5 separate regions of the Homo sapiens genome follow, and all the other regions are linked to region 3. The links are contacts of gene promoters, found by promoter capture Hi-C in blood cells and fetal thymus (Javierre and others, 2016). All regions are on one chromosome and are shown on one strand. The core of a region is centred on a gene start or on the middle of the fragment in contact, and the rest is flanking DNA. Distances in the headings are between cores, read along the strand shown.

Region 1 (2,700 bases), core at 122-2,621, 170 kb before region 3:
AGGTTGCAGTGAGCCGAGATCACACCACTTCACTCCAGCCTGGTCAAAAGAGCGACTGTCTCAAAAAACTAACTTAAATTAAATTAAAGAATAAGTTATTCCACAAAGCAGAGTGGGGACCCAAAAGGTTCATAACAAGATTCAATCTCTGTCCATTAACCTCTTGAACCCAGGAAACACATCTACTCCAAACACGTCTTTCTCCACACAGGACAGATGACTGTCAAATAAGTTCAACTGAAAAAGATCTCTTCTTTCAGACTTTGGCAGAAACTATGTCCCTAACCTGACAGCCTGGCACCAATCCAACATTCCTCTGAGGTTAAAAGTCAGAGGGAAGCAATAACAGAGTAAAGAACAATCTCTGATCAAATTCTGCCAAGTTTACAGCTTTCTATAGAAGACTCATTCATTAAGTTGCCAGGTACACTTGCCCTACCATACCCACCAATCCCCTGCCTTTTGGGAAAGGTCAAAGCATAATTGTTGAAGGCAAAAAGTGGCAAGGCAAATAAACAAAAAAGATTTGTGGGTTATAAAACCAGCAGGTCACTAACTTGCTAACACTGGATTTTTTTTTTTTTGAGACAGAGAAAGATGGCAAAATAGAAATTTTTCTCTCTTGTCCTGTTCTAATAGTACAAGAGATCCATGAGCGCAGGGACACGATTTCTTCATTTTTGTAACTCCAACATCTAGTGTAGCATCTATAATATGGTAGGTAGTCAAATGCCTGATGAATAAATGATTCAATGACTAAGCCAATTTCCACATCAGCTACCAACAAACCAACCAATTTGAAGCTTAGCAGATCAGAAATTCTACGGCACTTCTTATCACCATTCTATTTCTAAGTTTTAAAAACTCTCCTTTCCAAAGGGACATCAACCATGCTGTCACAACTCTTACCTCCCTCACACTACATGAGTTTACCTACATACACCTATATGTATTAACTAGGTGACTTTGGTCAAATTACTTACAGGGTTTCAGTTGTCTCTTCTATAATCTAGACTTGTATTAGATGACTCATAAGATACTTTCAAGGTTTAAAAAATAAACTTCTTCAGTTCACTATAGCCTCATGATCTATGATCTTTGACTATCATTCTAGATATTGTCAATTTTAAATTTACCTGAGTTTCAACATCATAATTATCAGAAAGAATTACTAATACATAAAGAACTTTTGGTCTAAGATACCTCAAATTCAAAATGTCAAATTCAAAATGTCAAATTCAAATGTCAAATTCAAATTCAAAATGTCAAGTCCCTTACCTTCAGGAATTAGGAATTAAATTCCTTCAGAATTAATAGATGAATGAATCCTCCCCCTACCCCCCAGTACAGGCAAGAATTTCTTCTCCAAACCCATTTTAGCCACAGCCTTAGGTCAGAGGAAGTGGTAGCAGCTCAAATAACTTATACACATGAATAATCCAAAACCAAGTGTATAGCTGCAAAATAAATTTCAATCTTCTCTCTTTAAAAAAAAGCAACGCAACTGTAAAGCCATTTTAATAACTTTCTGAAAGAATGTGAGAAATATACAATAAGTACACAAAATAGTAATCACAAACAGGTGCTCAGCAAAAAGGAAAAGAGTTGACTAAGCCATAGGCATACAGGCAATTTCACAGCCAGACAGTCTTCTGGGTGAGAGAAGTGAATGAAAACTAGTGTTATGGCATCATAGATCTCACATGTCAACACAGCACACAGGCTATTCTTCTCAAAAAACATTTTAACAAAGTAATTTAGAGGTTCAACATTATCTAGAATGCCTTGCTCTTTAGCAAAAATTTGAAGCACTAAGCCAAACTTCCTAACAGCACATTCTTACATTTGATGTCTCCAGGTGCATGCTGTGGACCCTGACCTAACCCCACCCAACAGGTGAGAACAACAGCTTTTGTTACATCACCACTAATACCTTGCTTAAGCTTTTCAAATTCCAAATGGAGATATCAAACCAATGATTAAAACACAGTGTTTGGGCCGGGCACAGTGGCTCACGCCTGTAATTCCAGCACTTTGGGAGGCCGAGGAGGGTGGATCACCTGAGGTCAGGAGTTTGAAACCAGCCAGGCCAACATGGTGAAACCCTGTCTCTACTAAAAATACAAAAATTTGCTGGGTGTGGTGGCTAGTCCCAGCTACTAGGGAGGCTGAGGCAGAAGGATCACTTGAACCAGGAAGGTGGAGGTTGCAGTGAGCTGAGATGGCACCACTGCACTCCAGCCTGGGCGACAGAGCAAGACTCTGTCTCGAAAAAAACAAAAAGTTTGGGCTGGGCACAGTGGCTCATGCCTGTAATCCCAGCACTTTGAGAGGCTGAGGCAGGAGGATCACTTGAGCCCAGGAGTTTGAGACCAGCCTGGACAACACAGTGGGACCCTGTCTCTAAAAACCTTTTTTAAACTAATTAAGCATGGTCGTGTGTGCCTGTAGTCCCAGCCACGTGAGTGGCTGAGGTGGGAGGATTGCTTGAGCCTGGGAGGTCAAGGCTATATAGTGTGCGACAACTGTGCCCCTACTCTTCAGGCTGGGCAACAGAGTGAGACCCTGTTTCAAAAAAAAAAAAAAAAAAAAAAAAAAGCAAACCAAACACACAGTTTTTGGCTCTGTCTCAGGGAGGAGGAGGAGGAGGAAGAGGAGGAGGAAGAGGAGGAGGAGGGGGAGGGGGAGAAGAAGAAAAGC
Region 2 (2,700 bases), core at 114-2,613, 150 kb before region 3:
CGATACACACCAAGTCCTACTACTTACTAGGCATGCAAACATAAACCAGTTACTTAAACCCTGAATTCAGTATCCACTGAGAATGCTGAGCCAGACTCAGTACCTTTCAAAGCTGTCTACCAAGGTACCCCACTTCGGAGAGGCATCAGAAACCCACCAAACCCAGCTCTCCTTATTGCTATTACCCAGACTGAAAATGTGTGATCATTCTTACCTAACCTTTTTCACGATAATCAGTTACCAAATTCCCCTTATCTCTCTTCAAATTACTCAAATCTCTCCCCCTTTCTGCATTACCATTACCCTTGTAGACAGTCTTTTTCCTGGACTATTATAACAGTCCTCTAACTGGTATCCTTTCCTCTATTTTATACCACAAGGCTGAATCAGTTTTCCTAAAATACTAATTCATACAATACAATTCCCTACTCAGAGATTTTTCAGTATAAGTATAAAAACCAAATTCCTTTGGCTGAGATTTAAGTCTCACTCCAATTTATCTAACTCTCTAACTTTACTAACTTTACTGATCTTATTGCCCTCCTAGGTAAAACACTGTGCTACAAACTACTTTTCCTGCCCCCAAAACAAGGTGAGCTCAGCTCACTGGTTCTCCACCTTGAATGTTTCCCCGCTATATTTCTCTCTTCTCTAAGGTCTAGATTACCATAAAGGTAAAACTTTTCCCTATCTATTCCCTTTAAACTTCTATATAGCTATGTAACTGTACTCCTCACTTGGTACTTAGTACCTTGGACTTGTATTACTATTTATCTATTTATGCAAATATTCAGTGTTCACAAATAATTAGTGAGTTCTTAATGACTTTGACTGTTTCTATAATATACTGGAAGCCTAACTTTTCAGAGAACAGATATCCAATAAACTGTTGACAGTAACTACTACCTTAGACAAGTCATTTAAATTTTCTGGGTCTCATTTTCCTCACCTAGAAAATGACAATATGTAAATCTCTTTTCAGTTCTAAAATGCTATATGATATTAGATATACTGCTACATAGCCTGTATTTGTTTCTCACATTTTTTTTCTTTATATGCATTTATCTGTATGTAACCATGTCCTATGTAACCCAGAATATAAATTCCCAAGGGGCCAGTTCTCCTCCTGCTTATTTATTTACTGGGTAACTCCTCCTTGGCATCTCCTTAGTGCATTGTCCCCAGATTCCAGTGCACAGCCAAGTGTTCGGTGGAAAGGAATTTGTAGTTTCAATCAAGCAGCAAACATCAAGGGAAATTTGCACAGATGATTTAAATCTCAATTTTCATAATGAACTAGTATATTATACAAAATTACAAAGATGTGAGAAAGAAGGAACTTAAAGTTGTTAAAATGACAGGACACCTTGTGCCAAATAGCCAGGAATTTATTTTAGGCAAGCAAAGAAGCTAGGACACAGAAACTCTTAAGTCTAACTCTCAAATTCTATTTTCAGAGTTCTAAGAAGGGGTATGGAAAGTCTCTATTCATGTCAGTAAACAACAGGGACCAAGTATTGTTCATGTCAGAGAATCCTGTCCCTTAGAACTGATAGAAATTTTCAGGAAATTGATGGTTTCATACTTAGCCAGGTGAGCTACCAGTTCAAGGGAGGCAAAAGCAGATGCTCACAATGGAACACATAAGAGGAGATAAGTTTCTAAAATATATTTTTGTTGGAGCTAGGCATGGTGGCACACACCTATAGTCCCAGCTACTCACAAGGCTGAGGTAGGAGGATGGCTTGAGCCCAGGAGTTCAAGACCAGCCTGGGCAACATAGTGAGACCCTGTCCCTAATAAATAAATAAACAAACTACATTTTTGTTAGTTAGCATCATTGTATTTTCCCACTGTCGTGTCTTAATTCTTCACATGCGACTACCTTCATGTAAATATCAATATTAATTAACACTAAAGCCTCAGAGGAATTCGCTCTTCCTTTTCTTTTGATGTTAGCTGTTAATGATTCAAAAGGCACTAGTAGACTAACTCATTTAAAATGACCCTGACTTTTCAAAGAACTATTTTAGAACACAGCACTGGCACTTTCAAAGCTGCATTCTATCTATAATATTCTCTAAGTAGGTATCTGTAGAGTGTAGCCTGGATACAACTTTGATTAGTTAATATAAAAGGCTTATAAAGAATTCTAAGCCAGTTGTGGGAAAGATTATATCCTGCTGGAGAAAAAAGAAAATCAGGAACGTTTTTGTGGAAGAGATAGTTTACACTGGGACTTTAAGAATGGGTAAGTTTAAAAACAAAACAAAACAAAACAGGGCAAGTGGGAGCTGGGCATGGTGGCTCACGCCTGTAATCCAACACTTTGGGAGACTGAGGCAGGCAGATCACTTGGGGTCAGGAGTTCGAGACCAGCCTGGCTAACATTAGGAAACCCTGTCTCTACTAAAAAATACAAAAATTAGCCGGGTGTGGTAGCGCGCACCTGTAGTCCCAGCTACTTGGGAGGCTGAGGCAGGACAATCACTTGAACGCTGGAGGTAGATATTGCAGTGAGCAAAGATGGCACCACTGCACTCCAGCCTGGGTGACGGAGCAAGACCCTGTCTTAAAAAAAGAAAACAAAAAACAAACAAACAAAAAAACAGGACAAGTGGGGAGGGCAATGGAGAAAACAGGTTTAAAATTTAGGTGACTGAATGAACTAGATCTACCTGTAGACACATCTGAAAAGCA
Region 3 (2,700 bases), core at 198-2,697:
AGGAAAGGTGGAACTGGAAAAGAGAGGGAGCCCCTCCTTCATTTGACAGACACCAGAAAAAGTCAAAAGAGCCTCCACTATTCAAACCACAAATCTAGCCAACACTTTTATCTTGAGACATCTCTGGAAAAATGATTTTTCCTTTTCCCTGCTCCTCAGTGCCAGGGATTTTTATTCATTTTGTGGTTACTGCATGCTTGCCATATGCCAGGCAATGTGTTTATTAGCTTATTATGATTTCAAAATTAGCCCTGGAAGACAACACATATCTTCAAAGGACTCTCAGAGGTCATCTCATATCTTCCCCTAGCTTTCCTTGTTGATAAAAATGGCAGTTCATCCCTCACCACTTAATACGTGGAGGGACGCGGGCCTAAAGAAATTCAGTGACTTGACCAAAGCCCAGAGTGGTGATGAAACCAGTACCCAAGCGCGGGGTTTCTCACTCCCCTTTTCCATCACACGTATATATATTAAAAAGACATGAAGTTACTAAGATGTGTCCTGGAGGCTCTGAGGCAGATCTGCTGTAGGAGGGATCAGCAGAGGCTTCTCTAGTCAGGGCATTCTCTGGGCGTTCAGCCCTTCCCTCCACTGGGCTCCAGCGCTGTAGAGAGGGTGGGGTTTTTACCTATCAGTATAGCGGGAAAAGATACCCAGGTGGCAGGAAGTTTAAGCCTCACCTGGAACTTATATTGAAAGCCACTTGGTAGAAAGGATAATGGTTTGGAGACAGAGTTCTATTCCTGCCAGCATTGACACTGTGTCTGAAAAGCCAGCATCGACACTGTGTCTGCAAATCCCTCAGCTATTCTGAGTCTCCGTTTTCTCCCTGTGAGATGGAGATCATAAAATCCGCCTCATCCTTAGGATTATTCTCCTGAAGCTACAATAAGGCCTGAGGCATTGTACGCTGGAAGAAACGTGTATTAATAGCAACTTCTGTCCCACCCCATCCCCCAACACGTCGATCCCCTCCGGAGCATAAAACTTTCCCCCAGCATCTGACCTGCCCAGGCCACCCTAGCACCTAGGAGCGTGAATTCCTGATGCGGGTTGTGGGTGGCGCGCCCTCCCGGTTCCCGCTCTCGTTTTTGTTTTTGGTCGGGTAAGGCGATGCTGTAGAGGCTGGCGATCTCCAGTCTTCACGAATCCGCACGTCTCTCCATTATCCACCGCGCCCGCCCACTGGGCCCCGGGGCGGCCGGCGGCCGGGTCTCTCGGGCTCCGCGTGTCGCCCGAGCCGCCGCCGGAGCGAGGGTCCCTGCCCCCTGGGGAGCGGTCTCCAGCCGCTTCGAAGCCGCCTTCTTCCCCCTCCGTGAGTCAGAAACAAAGGCGGGGGGGCGGGGGGAGCGCCCGAGCTGCGGCTCCGCGATTCGCCCTTTATTCTGAACTCGCAACGTCAGCGGCCCGCGGATGGAGCTGCGGGGTGCGGACTGGGCCGCCCACAGCGCACCGGGCCGGGGGAGCGGCCGCGCTGGGCCGGGCGGGCGGGTGGCGGGGGTGCGCTCGGGGACCCGGGCCGCGTGGGCGCCGGGATGGAGGGCGCCAAGGGGCGGGGAGCGGGCGTGCGTGTGTGTGCGAGTGCGAATGCGAGGGAGGCCGGCCTTGAGTGAAACCGGAGCTACAAAGAAGGGGAGAGTCCGGGAGCGGGAGGGCGCGAGGGAGGAGCGGCGGCGCCGGGGCAGCTCCGACGCCCTCCCGCGGGGAAGGAGCCCCCGCGGTGCCGCCGAGGCCCCGACGCGGGGCCGCCCCTCGGCTCGCCGCCCCGCGCCCGCGCCCGCTGGGAATGATGAAGAAGAACAATTCCGCCAAGCGGGTGAGTGCGCTTGCCCGCCCTGCGGCCGCCGCCGCCTCCGCGCTCTGACGACCCCCGCTCCGTCGGCGCCGCGGCGGCCTGGGAGACCCACGGCCCGGCCGCGCCCCCGCCCCGGCGGCCCGGTCCCCTCGGCCTCGGCCCCGCCAGGCGCCCGCGGGGGCTTTTGTTTGTTTACTCGCCTCGGGGGGCTTCAACTTGGCTGAGTTTCCCCACGACCCGCACCTCCCCCGCCCCCGGGCGCCGGGCGAGCGTTTGCCTCGCGCTCCGCCGTGGCGAGGAGACAATGGGAGAGAAAACCAGAGAAACGCCGTTAGTCCCCGCGCGGCGAGGACGGGGCGGCGGGGGCGCAGGGCCTGGAGGGAACCTGGGAGCCTCTCCGCGCCCGGCCGGCGCCCCTGCCACTTGCAGCCCCGGTTGTTTATTCGGGAGCGGGGGAGGGGAGCGGGGGGAGTTCCTCGGAGTGAAAACCTTTCCGAAGTGGGAGCGAACCTGGGGCGGCCCCCCGCCCCCCGGCCGCAGCCTTCGGAGGAGACTGGGCCGCCGAGGCGGTCGTGAGAGACGGACGGAGAGGAAGCGCCGGCTGGAATCTCCTAACCGCCCGCTTCTCATCTTGTCCTGGGGCAGGGACCTCAGGATGGAAACCAGCAGCCTGCACCGCCCGAGAAGGTCGGCTGGGTCCGGAAATTCTGCGGGAAAGGGATTTTCAGGGAGATTTGGAAAAACCGCTATGTGGTGCTGAAAGGGGACCAGCTCTACATCTCTGAGAAGGAGGTGGGTGCCTCTTGCCTCTAACTCTCCGTTTTCTCATAGCCCCCACTTTGTCACTCCCCAAGGGCTCGCCTAGCTTACTCCACCCCCGTTTTGTTCCAAAGGCAAGTTCA
Region 4 (2,700 bases), core at 175-2,674, 250 kb before region 3:
GAGGGCCCTCCATCTGTAGGGGAAAGATCAAGGTAGAGAGGCCAATTTAGGAAGTAAATCTGGTACACCATGTTATTCTGACCTTCAGTCCATCTCACCATTTTACCCTCCAAGGCTGTTAGGAGAATTGGATGTAGGTGGAGAGTCACAGAAGCAGGTATAGCCATTTTGTATTTTGAGGATTTGTTTCCGTTTTATTTTTCGTCAATATTTTTCACTGCATTTTTCACATCAACAGAGTTGGGTTTAGGGTTCCCCAGGAGAGCAAGGGAGATGGATGGGTCCCTCCCAGGGGTGCGAGGAAGAGGGCTACGTCCAGCATGTGGGGAGTGAGGGACAAGGGCACAGGGCACACACTCATACACTGGGCACTGGAGAAGGCAGTCTTTTGAGCACAGACACCAAAGAGTTAAACAGTCACCACCTGGTACAGTGTTACAAAATGGGGAGAGTGACCACAGGGTTGGGGCACTGGACGCAGCATGACGAAGGTGAATTTTGATTTTCTTTTTTGTTATTTTCACTTTTTTCCTTTTAACATTTTTTTAAACATTTTACAAACATCTAAAAACTACAACACGTCACAGCTACAGTGGGGTGAGGGGAGGGCACCAAAGAAAGCAGCCACACAGAGTAGGGTGGGATGGGGCAGCCTAACCTACAGAGGCTATTGTGTGGAAGGGTAAAATGGGGAAACTGAGGCTTCTAGTCCCTGCATTAGGGGTCCCTCACTCACTGCCCAACCTCTCCCCACTCAGAGGAGCTGCCAGGAGGGCCCCTGCTTCCTGCCTCTGCCCCAGCTCTTTGTGCTTTTTGATCTGCTGGTTTGACCAGATGCCTGGTTTCTTTCCCTCCCCTGCTCCCCTCCCTGTGAGGGGACAGGTAGGGAGCATGGGAGGGCAGCTGTGCTATTCCCGCCTGTGCTGTAGTGGGTGGAGCCTCTCACTCCAGAGGAGGCCTCTGCTTCTTGAGGAGGGAAGGAGATGGGCCTTGTCGGATGCCCTCAGATCTCCCTAGACTGTGGGACTCTTATCCCAGGCTGGCCTAGGGCTCCTCCATCCCAGGCTCAACACAGAAACCAGATTAGGGGAGGAACTGTGGGAGGCAGGGTTGTGTGTGCATCCGCTGAAATTACCCTTGGCTTATATTTGAGGACAGTATAGTGATACCCCCCGCCCCATGGCACATGCACACACATATGTAAGTATACATACACATTCACACACAGTCCTGCGGAGCTGCCTCAGAACTTAATCTATTAATAAATAAGAATCAGAAAGCTAATTTCATAAAATTCAGGCTTCATATTTGCAGCCCAAATTGAGAGGAAAGTGGAGGCCAGAGGGCTGAGGTTTATTGCTTCTCCCCCAGCATCCAACAGGAGATGTGAGAGGGCACCCGAGGCCCACTCTTCAGACTCTAAGAAGTTCTTTTGGTCCATGGTCTACACCAGAGCCCCAGCCCCTAGCATAATTGCATACCTGTGGTTTCACCAGGGCCTAGGCAGAGGGAATGATGGGGAAGGCAGGAAGCCTATTCTGGAACCCCTGGAACAGGGAAGCAAGGGCCCCTCTCTAACAGGGGGAGAAGGATGGGGCTCAGCCTTCTCTTGTGCAAAGTCAAGGGCAGTGGGAAATGGGGAGTACAGCTTCATCTCAAAACTGGGATGAAGGAGCCTTCCCTGTAGTCCCTGCCCACGGGGTTTACACACATGCACACGCACACGCACACACAGCTAAGACACCAAACACGGGGAGTGGGGAGTGAGGGCTCTGGAGGTCAGGATGGCAGGGCAGGGAGGGGAAGGAAGGAGTTGTTGGTCTCACAGTGTGCCTGCCAATCCCAAAGCCCTAGAGACCCCTTCACTGCAGCACCTGCCCCCGGGTCTCAGGCAGCTTCAGGGCCAGAGAGCTGCCAAGGGCAAGGGCAGCTGAGGCAAAGAGGATGGGTGCAGCCTTGGTGATTCCCACGAAGGATGTGAAGATGCTGATCCCCAGCACAGCTGCCAGCTTACACAGGGCATTCAGGAAGCCAAAAGCTGTGGTCCTGCTCAGGAGTCCCCCAGTGCAGCACGGCGCAAGGTACAGGAGGGAGGCAAAGGAAGAGTGGAGGGCAGGGAAGTGAAGTCCAGGAAGATGCAGGCAGTGTCCAAGAGGGAGAGAGAAGGTTGGAGAGATCAGAGAGGTAAAGGATGTACACCAGGAATGTAAATAAATTGAGAGACAAAGGGAAAGGAGACCAAAAATTGAGGTTAACAGTTAAGACTTTGAGGAGTAGATACAAAAGCTACCAGATTTTTTTTTCCTTTTTTTTTTTTTTTGAGACGGAGTCTTGCTCTGTTGCCCAGGCTGGAGTGCAGTGGTGCGATCTCGGCTCACTGAAAGCTCCACCTCCCGGGTTCAAGCAATTCTCCTGCCTTAGCCTCCTGAGTAGCTGCGATTACAGGCACCCAGCTAACTTTTTGTATTTTTAGTACAGACAGGGTTTCACCATGTTGGCCAGGCTGGTCTCAAACTCCTGACCTCAGGTGATCTGCCTGCCTCGGCCTCCCAAAGCACTGGGATTACAGGCATGAGTCACCGTGCCCGGCCAAAGCTACCAGATTTTAGAGGAGAAAATGGAAATGTATATCCTCTCACCCCTAAGGATGCTCTTCCCATTCAGCCCTCCTTCCTCACCCCACCCCTCCCCTGAATCCAC
Region 5 (2,700 bases), core at 23-2,522, 190 kb before region 3:
GGTCCACTCCAGACCCTGTTTGCCTGGGTATCACCAGTGGAGGCTGCAGAACAGCAAATATTGCAGAACGGCAAATGTTGCTGCCTGATCCTTTCTCTGGAAGCTTCATCTCAGAGGGGCACCCGGCTGTATAAGATGTCAGTCAGCCCCTACTGGGAGGTGTCTCCCAATTAGGCTACTCGGGGGTCAGGGACCCACTTGAGGAGGCAGTCTGTCCGTTCTCAGATCTCAAACCGCGTGCTGGGAGAACCACTACTCTCTTCAAAGCTGTCAGACAGGGACGTTTAAGTCTGCAGAAGTTCCTGCTACCTTTTGTTCAGCTATGCCCTGCCGCCAGAGGTGGAGTCTACAGAGGCAGGCAGGCCTCCTTGAGCTGCAGTGGGCTCCACCCAGTTCGAGCTTCCCGGCCGCTTTGTTTACCTACTCAAGCCTCAGCAATGGCGGACGCCCCTCTCCCAGCCTCACTGCCTCCTTGCAGTTCTATCTCAGACTGCTGTGCTAGCAGTGAGCAAGCCTCCGCAGGCATGGGACCCTCCGAGCCAGGCACGGGATATAATCTCCTGGTGTGCCATTTGCTAAGACCGTTGGAAAAGGGCAGTATTAGGGTGGGAATGTCCCGATTTTCCAGGTACCGTCTGTCACGGCTTCCCTTGGCTAGGAAAGGGAATTCTCCAACTCCTTGTGCTTCCCAGGTGAGGCAATGCCCCGCCCTGCTTCGGCTCACGCTCCGTGGGCTATACCCACTGTCCAACAAGCCCTACTGAGATGAACCCGGTACCTCAGTTGGAAATGCAGAAATCATCCCTCTTCTGCGTCACTCATGCTGGGAGCTGTAGACTGGAGCTGTTCCTATTTGGCCATCTTCAACACTTGGTCAATCTTGTTTTACTACACCTCAGATCTATTTACCTACCTCCCCCATCACGGGGCTACCACCAGAGAATTTTGAAGCAAATCCTGGACATTATATAATTTCATCCATTTTTATTTTATTTCAGTTTCTATCTCTAAAAACATAAAGGACTACCTTTTTTTTTTTTTTTTTTTTTTTGAAATGGAGTCTCACTCTGTCGCCAGGGCTGGAGTGCAGTGGCACGAACTCGGCTGACTACAACCTCTGCTTCCTGGGTTCAAGCAATTCTCCTGCCTCAGCCTCTCGAGTAGCTGGGATTACAGCCGCCTAGCACCACGCCCAGCTAATTTTTTGTATTTTCAGTAGAGACAGGGTTTCACCACATTGGCCAGGCTGGTCTCGAATTCCCGCCCACCTCGGCCTCCCAAAGTTCTGGGATTACAGGCGTGAGCCACTGCGCCTGGCCAGGACTACCTTTTTAAACAACCACTATACCATTAATATCACATTTTATAATTTTAACAATAATCAAACACAGAGACATTGTTCACATTTCCTTAATTGTCTTATGATGTCCACACATCCCAACTGGTTGATGTCTTTTTTTTCTTTTAGAGACAGAGGTCTCTCTTTGTCACCCAGGCTGGAGTGCAGGGGTGCTGTCACAACTCACTGCAGCCTCGACCTCCCCAGCTCAGGCAATCCTCCCACCTCAGCCTCCCAAGTAGCTGGGACTATAGGCATGCACCACCATGCCTGGCTAATTTTTTTTTTTTAAGATGTGGTCTCACTGGCCAGGCATGGTGGCTCATGCTTGTAATCCCAGCACTTTGGGAGGCCAAGGTGGGTGGATCACTTGAGGCCAGGAGTTTGAGATCACCCTGGCCAAAATGGTGAAACCCCGTCTCTAATAAAAATACAAAAATTAGCTGGGCGTGGTGGCATGCATCTGTAGTCCCAGCTACTTGGGAGGCTGAAACAGAGAATCACTTGAACCCTGAAGGCAGAGGTTGCAGTGAGCAGAGATCACACCACTGCACTCCAGCCTGGGCAACAAAGTAAGACTCTGTCTCAAAAAAAAAAGAAAAAAAAGAAAGAAAAAGAAAGGGGGTCTCACTATGTTACCCAGGCTGGTTTCGAACTCCTGGGCTCACACGATCCTCCTGCCTCAGCCTTTCAAAGTGCTGAGATTACAGGTGTGAGACACCACACCCGGCCTGATATGTCTTTTTAGTCCATTTAAACCTACAAGTTCCTGGTCCCTTTTTATTTTCCTTGCAGTTTACTTACTGAAGATACTGGGTCATTTGTCCTGAAGTTTCCAAAGTCTAGATGGGCTACTTTATATTCCAGTTCAATACCGAACTACCTGTAGTTCCTAAACATATCATGTTGTTACACACTTTTGTGCCCTTAGCATAGTTCCCCTCTTTCCTTCTAATATCCTCTTAGCACAGAGCTCTCTAGACACTGGGCTGTGGAAGCCCAGTGAGGACTCTATGCAGGTTTCCTCCTCCCCTACTTAGCCATACTTACCCACCACAGTTGGCTCCATTGGTACCTAGATGCATTCGGGGTTCACTTGAGGCAAGCTTGATCAGTTCATTCCACTCCTTCTGCCATTCATCTTCTGTGTATACCAGCCCTGACTGTGTGAAGGACAGGCAGGGGACATTGGGCAATTAGAGGCTGGGTTCTAAGAGGCAATACCTATTCCACCTTATTCACTGTTACTTACTCCCTAATCCCTTAGCACTTGGTTTACAAATTGTACTACAAAGTCAAATCTCTTATCTCTTTTACAGTCAAGATCCATGAACTAATAGTCTATGACTATTAAACTTCTT

The links. Contacts are between HindIII fragments. The CHiCAGO score rates a contact against its expected background, and 5 or more counts as called.
Region 1: a fragment that was not itself captured here is called in contact with the fragment with the promoter of PLEKHO1 in region 3 in 14 of 17 cell types (erythroblasts, naive CD8 T cells, activated CD4 T cells and 11 more); the score reaches 15.1 in erythroblasts.
Region 2: a fragment that was not itself captured here is called in contact with the fragment with the promoter of PLEKHO1 in region 3 in 11 of 17 cell types (erythroblasts, megakaryocytes, naive B cells and 8 more); the score reaches 10.6 in erythroblasts.
Region 4: a contact is called between a fragment that was not itself captured here and the fragment with the promoter of PLEKHO1 in region 3, in 7 of 17 cell types (erythroblasts, naive B cells, activated CD4 T cells and 4 more). The highest score is 8.2, in erythroblasts.
Region 5: a contact is called between a fragment that was not itself captured here and the fragment with the promoter of PLEKHO1 in region 3, in 7 of 17 cell types (total CD4 T cells, naive CD8 T cells, erythroblasts and 4 more). The highest score is 7.3, in total CD4 T cells.

What each region holds. Positions count from the first base shown.
Region 1 is chr1:149,978,443-149,981,142 of GRCh38, forward strand. The region is part of intron 1 of OTUD7B (OTU deubiquitinase 7B); the gene reads right to left. Among named protein-coding and RNA genes, the nearest start is that of OTUD7B, 31 kb to the right of the region's middle. The HindIII fragment of the contact is 1,140 bases long and covers 802-1,941 here.
Region 2 is chr1:149,997,901-150,000,600 of GRCh38, forward strand. The region is part of intron 1 of OTUD7B (OTU deubiquitinase 7B); the gene reads right to left. Among named protein-coding and RNA genes, the nearest start is that of OTUD7B, 11 kb to the right of the region's middle. The HindIII fragment of the contact is 4,644 bases long and covers 1-2,700 here.
Region 3 is chr1:150,148,469-150,151,168 of GRCh38, forward strand. PLEKHO1 (pleckstrin homology domain containing O1) reads left to right here and starts at 1,448. Exons shown (of 6, transcript NM_016274.6): 1 at 1,448-1,819; 2 at 2,444-2,590. The coding sequence starts at 1,790. RefSeq lists silencers at 1,076-1,535, 1,676-1,755 and an enhancer at 1,388-1,888. The HindIII fragment of the contact is 16,730 bases long and covers 1-2,700 here.
Region 4 is chr1:149,903,152-149,905,851 of GRCh38, forward strand. SV2A (synaptic vesicle glycoprotein 2A) reads right to left here. Exons shown (of 13, transcript NM_014849.5): 13 at 167-2,046. The coding sequence ends at 1,863. Among named protein-coding and RNA genes, the nearest start is that of BOLA1, 4.9 kb to the left of the region's middle. The HindIII fragment of the contact is 3,812 bases long and covers 1-2,700 here.
Region 5 is chr1:149,957,295-149,959,994 of GRCh38, forward strand. It overlaps OTUD7B (OTU deubiquitinase 7B), which reads right to left. Exons shown (of 12, transcript NM_020205.4): 7 at 2,390-2,502. Among named protein-coding and RNA genes, the nearest start is that of MTMR11, 22 kb to the left of the region's middle. The HindIII fragment of the contact is 2,342 bases long and covers 102-2,443 here.